Linked DNA regions of Homo sapiens: region 2 is linked to region 1. Evidence: promoter capture Hi-C in 16 types of primary human blood cells and fetal thymus (Javierre and others, 2016). All regions are on one chromosome and are shown on one strand. Each heading gives the region's core, a stretch centred on a gene start or on the middle of the fragment in contact. The rest is flanking DNA. Distances are from core to core; before and after follow the strand shown. Region 1 holds the start of TIMM22 (translocase of inner mitochondrial membrane 22). Region 2 overlaps DOC2B (double C2 domain beta).

What was found. Contacts are between HindIII fragments. The CHiCAGO score rates a contact against its expected background, and 5 or more counts as called.
Region 2: a fragment that was not itself captured here is called in contact with the fragment with the promoter of TIMM22 in region 1 in 15 of 17 cell types (naive CD8 T cells, M2 macrophages, fetal thymus and 12 more); the score reaches 15.1 in naive CD8 T cells.

What each region holds. Positions count from the first base shown.
Region 1 is chr17:995,781-998,643 of GRCh38, reverse strand. It overlaps TIMM22 (translocase of inner mitochondrial membrane 22), which reads right to left and starts at 1,515. Exons shown (of 4, transcript NM_013337.4): 1 at 1,264-1,515. The coding sequence starts at 1,501. RefSeq lists an enhancer at 802-1,493. The HindIII fragment of the contact is 11,380 bases long and covers 1-2,863 here.
Region 2 is chr17:150,730-153,592 of GRCh38, reverse strand. The region is part of intron 6 of DOC2B (double C2 domain beta); the gene reads left to right. Among named protein-coding and RNA genes, the nearest start is that of SCGB1C2, 15 kb to the right of the region's middle. The HindIII fragment of the contact is 3,739 bases long and covers 1-2,863 here.

The DNA of each region.
Region 1 (2,863 bases), core at 266-2,765:
CACTTGCCTGGAGACTTGCAATCCAGGGTCTATGTTACTGACATCATCTTCTCCGTCTCTAAGATTTCTTCCTCCTGTCATTCCCTAACATTTCTCAAGATTCCATCTTTAACCCTCTATTCTCTCTACATTCTCTCATATGTAAACCAGCCACCCTCAACTTCAGCTATCAACTTTGCAAATCACTCTCTTGGCCACTGTGACATTCACAGTAATGCTTTACTGAGCACATGCCAGTATGCCACAGCCTCATTCATTCTTCACAATAATCCAGTGAGACAGATGCTATTAGCCTCTCCTTTCTATAAACTGAGGCTCAGAGAGGTTAAGCAACTTCTCCCAAGGCCACACAGCTACCTAATGGCAAATCCCACACTGCTGCCACATCTGTCCTTCCTGAGCCGGCTGGACATGTCCAGATGGATGCCCTCTCATGACCTCATGGTCAATATGAGTTTAATAAAATCATGGGCACCTCCCCTTCAACTTAAGGGAAAAACAGAAGGACAAGTGCAGACTTCGTCTCTCCTTGCTCGGGGCTGTCTAGTCACAATGGTCTTTCAGTTTTTCAAACCTCAAACAACTGCTGCCCTAGAGTCGTCTGCATGTGCATTTCCATATGTCTGCATCCTTCCTCTGCAGTGTTCCTGCTCAACATTCTTCTCCACATAGTATAATACAGGCCCCATGAAGACCAGGCTCTTGTCTCTTTCACCTGGCACGTGATATTGCTTAGGAACAATTTGTTGAAAGAATTATTTAAGAGAATGAATTTAAGGGAATGAACGGATGAATGAAGTCACCCACGTAATAACTTTTTGTTGTTGTTTTTGAGACGGAGTCTCGCTCTGTCGCCCAGGCTGGAGAGCAGTGGCACATCTCGGCTCACTGCAAGCTCCGCCTCCTGGGTTCAAGCGATTCTCCTGCCTCAACCTCCCGAATAGCTGGGACTACAGGCGCCCACCACCACGTCCAGCTAATTTTTTGTATTTTTAGTAGAGACGGGGTTTCACCGTGTTAGCCAGGATGTCATGTAATAACTTTCAGGCCCCAACCACAGCACCGATTCTCTAACCCAATTTTCATCAGGAAAGCCGGCCTGAGGGGGCAGGAGAGGTGACGCCCGATTCACGAACGAGGCGAGGGTGTGGTCAAGGTCAAGGCCCGCAGTCCCTCGCCTCCCAGGCGCGTGGTCTTCTCGGCAGAGATCCCCACTGCCGTCCAGGCCCTCAGCCTCCCAAGGGTCCCATCGCCCGGCCTCACCTCCCACGCAGGCCAGCGCAGCCTTGAAAGCGCAGCTTTCCATCGCCTTCTCGATCATCTTCTGCTCCTCACTCTTGGCTGGACTTGGGATCCCGCCCAGGCTCCCAGGCTCCAGGAGCCGGGGCTGACGCTTGTCACCCACCAGGTACTGCAGGAGCAGGCTGTACTGCAGCGGAGCTTCGGCGGAACCCGCTGTCTCAGGGGCCGAGCCTCCGGCATTGGGGGCGGCCGCCGCCATGACAGTCGCTGCCCAAGCAACCCTCGCGTCCTTCTCCCCGCAGCAGATTCGACAAGCGTCACGTTGCGGGCCCTGAGACTAGCCACTGTGATGCAACGGCAGATTCGCCGCAGGAGGAAGCCGCGGCCGCAACGCTCCTGGTGCGCACACCAGCGAGACCGCTATCATGTTTCCAAAAAGAAAGCCTCTTGTGAAAATGGAATTGGGCTTGGACAGCTTTCCCCATGTCACAGACAAACGAGATTCAGATTCACCAGAAAGCGCCCTCACGGTCGGGGCTGCAGCGCGGTGAGTACCGGGATTTGTAGTTCTAATCCGACACCCAACTACATTTCCCAGGAAGCGTTGCGCGTGCTCTCGCGCCTCGGCCCCGCGCGGGGCTCTTACGAGCTCCTGAGGGGAGCGAGGAGTGGCCGCGCGCTCCGGGGCTGCCGTGCTCCGGATCGCCGGGAGGGGACGCGCGAGCATTGTCGCTGCCCTTTCCACCTCGTGCTGTCATCGGGCGGTGAGGCGTTAAATCCCGTGGTCCCGGAAGGTGCGGTGAGAGGTGGATGCTTTGTAGATAAGCGTGAACTTGTGCTGTAAATGCACGGACCGGGCGCGGGGGCTCACGCCTGTCATCCAGCACTGTGGGAGGCCGAGGCCGGTGGATCACGAGGTCAGGAGTTCGAGACCAGTCTGACAAACATGGTGAAACCCCATCTCTACTAAAAATTAAAAAAATAAAAAATAAAAAAATTAGCTGGGCATGGTGGTGCACGCCTGTATTCTCAGCTACTTAGGAGGCTGAAGCAGGAAACCCCGTCTCTACTAAAAATATAAAAATTAGCCAGGTGGCGGCAGGCGCCTGTAATCTCAGTTACTCGGGAGGCTGAGACAGGAGAATCTCTTAAACCCGGGAGGTGGAGGTTGCAGTGAGCCAAGATCGCACCATCGCACTCCAGCCTGGGCGACAAGAGCAAGACTCCGTCTCAAAAAAAAAAAAAAAAAAAAAAAAATCCTAACTGACAGCATTTGCTGACTTGTGTGGTGTTAATATCCCCATCATGGCTGATTTCAAACTACCAAGCGAGGTCATCAGTCAGAATTGGGAAGACGTACAGCAGCATGTGGTTACATGGTGTTTCTATCACACAGATACAATCTATGGAAATAACCTCAACAGCATAGATAGGAGTACAGTGTAGTAAAATTTTTAGGAGGGGATGAGTTTTGAGCACATATTACCTATTTTTAGTGTAATTTATTATAAATGTATAGAATGTAATTTTTAATAATAACTGTGCTTAACAACCAGCTCAAAAACTCCTGATAATTTGTTGCCTTACTTTTTAAAATTACTCTTTTGAGACAGAGTCTTGC
Region 2 (2,863 bases), core at 266-2,765, 850 kb after region 1:
AGTAGCTGGGATTACAGGCATGCGCCACCACGCCAGGCTAATTTTTGTATTTTTAGTAGACGGGGTTTCACCATGTTGGCCAGGCTGGTCTTGAACTCCTGACCTCAAGTGATCCACCCACCCTGGCCTCCCAAAGGGCTGGGATTACAGGCGTGAGCCACTGTGCCCGGCCTATGGTGTGACATTTTTAAACCAGTTTCAATGCCCACCTGCCAGATGGACAGGAATTCCAGGGTCACCTGCTGGGTTGCCCAGAAAGCAGAGTCTTACCTGCTGTGACAGATGGTCTGGTCAACTTCCACAGGCAGGCGGGGGGCCATCTGGGCAGGGCCTGTCCACTGTACCACAAGCTCCTCCCTGCCACAGGTGGCTGCTGTGGGTGCTGCTGGACCCCTGCAGCTGGGTCCCACCTGCCAGCCGTGGGCCAGGTCACGTGGCCTTTCAAAGACAGGCCGAGCTGTGGGCCACTCCCTGTATCTGAGCCACGCCTCACCCGAGACCTCCACATCTGTTTCAGACACCCTGGGTGAGACACGACGGCTGCTGCTCGGGGCTCCTCAGGGGTCCCCGTCTCTGAAAGGCCCCTTCATGGACCAGGGGCCTCTTCCTCACTAAAGCAGAGGAAATAAGGGCACAGATTAGATGGTAAGAGGGGCACCCCTCAGCTGCATCCTAGACCTGGAAGAGAGTGTGACCTGTGCCCCAGAAGAAAGGGAGGGACGTATCTAGCGGTTGATGCTGAGGGCCAAAGCTAGATGGGTCAAGGCCTTTTGTCTGCACTATTATTTTTATTTGTTTTCTTTATTTCTTCCTTTCTTTTTTGAGACAGTGACTCACTCTGTCACCGGGCTGGAATGCAGTGATGCGATCACAGCTCACAGCAGCCTCAAACTCCTGGGCTCAAGCAGTCCTTCCCCCTCAGCCTCCTGAGTAGCTGGGACTACAGGTGTGCACCACCACGCCTGGCTAGTTGTTTTTTGTATTTTTTGTAGAGACTGGGTTTTGCCGTATTGGCCAGGCTGGTCTCAAACTGCTGGACTCAAACGATCCTCCTAGCTCGGCCTCCCAAAGTGCTGGGATTACAGGTGCAAGCCACCATGCCCAGCTAGCACCATTATTTTTATAAAGCTCATCTCTGGTGATACTTGCCCCAGTTTCCCCAGGCCGGAAGTTGACCCCAGGCCCAGCTCTTGAGGGTTTGATGGAAAACCCCAGGAGTAGCAGTGCCTGTGACAATCGCTGACATGTCGAGTTACACGTAATATCCCTGAGCTGCGCGATGGCTGCGTGTGACGCGCTCAGCAGCCTGTGCGGTCGCTCCTGTTGTTATCTCCATTTCATGCCCGTGAAAATGGCAGTAACTGGCAGCAACGTGCTGTGCCACCCTGGGCAACTCCCTTCTCTGGCTGTCTTATGTATAACCAGAAGGGGTTTCTTCTCAAAGCCACAGGCAAGCAGAAGGCACTGTGCAGAGGGCTCAGAGGTACACGGCACAGGGCGGCTCCGTGAGCCCCGGTGGCCAGGACCACTGTCCTGACAGCAAGGGAGGGAGAGACGCCACAGGGCGGGCCTCAGGGGCTTTGCAGGGTGGGCTTGTGCCAGAGTAGGGTATGCTCAGGGAGGGTGCTGAGGGATTTCCCCAGAGTGGTCAGGTGAGGAGGGAAGGGCACTTCTGGTAGAGAAAACAGCAGAACAGAGGGCAACGCTGGCGGAACTGTCCATGGCTGAAGGTGCCGAGGCTGGAGCCTGTCGTGGAAGTCTGGTGGCTGAGTGAGGGGTCACCAGATGGGCACAAGTTGTCCAGGCTGAGGGTGCAGAGATCCCAAAACAACTTTCCTTCCAGGGGCTTGTGAAGGCAGGGCACGCAGGACCCTTCTGTCCCTGCTCCTCACCCGTCACCAAACAGGCCAAGGACAGTTCACAGCAGACACAATATACCAATACCTAGAGAAATGGCCAAGGAGCATAGTAAGTAACTAAGGAAATCCGCTGTCTCCGGGTGGCGGGCTTAGGGGAATCCCCCCAAACTTTTTTAAAATCAGGTTTATTGAGGTACAGGTTGAGCGTCCCAAAGCTGTAAATCCAAAACCCCAAACATTCCAAGCACCGACATGACGCTCAAAGGGAATGCTTATTGGCGCGTTTGGGATTTCAGATTTTTGAATTTTTGAGTTAGGGATGCTGAACTGGTAAATATACTGCAAAGATTACAAAATATGAAAAAATCCAAAATTCAAAACATCTGGTCCAAGCATTTCAGATAATGGATCCTCAACCTGTATCATTCATATCCAGTGAGTTTTTCTTTTCTTTTCTTTTTTTAGAGACAGGGTTTTGCTCTGTTGTCCAGGCCAAAGTGCAGTGGCGCAATCATAGCTCATTGCAGCCTTGAACTCCTGGGCTCAAGCATCTTCCCACCTCAGCACTGTGAATAGCTGGGACTACAGGCATGCACCACCATGCCCAGCTAATTTTTAATTTTTTGGTAGAGATGGGGTCTCGCTGTATCACCCAGGCTGGGACAGTCTTGTTTCCACCACCAGAATCAACACAGAGAATATGACCCCAGAAAGTTCCCTGGCCCCAGGCAACCACTCACCTGTTTTCTGTCTCAATGGTGTTGCCGTTTCCAGACTTTCCCATGAAACAGTCAGATAGTGTGTTGCCCTGTGAGTCCGGCTTCTTTCACACGGAGGAATGCGTTTGAGATTCATCTGTCAGTTGCATGTACCAGGAGTTTGGTCCTTTTTGTTGCTAAGTGGTCTTCCATTGTGTGGGTAAACCACAAGTTTGTTGTTGATGAGTTCCCCAGTTGAAGGGCGTGTGGTTGTTTGCAATTTTTGGTGATGGTAGAAAGCTGCAA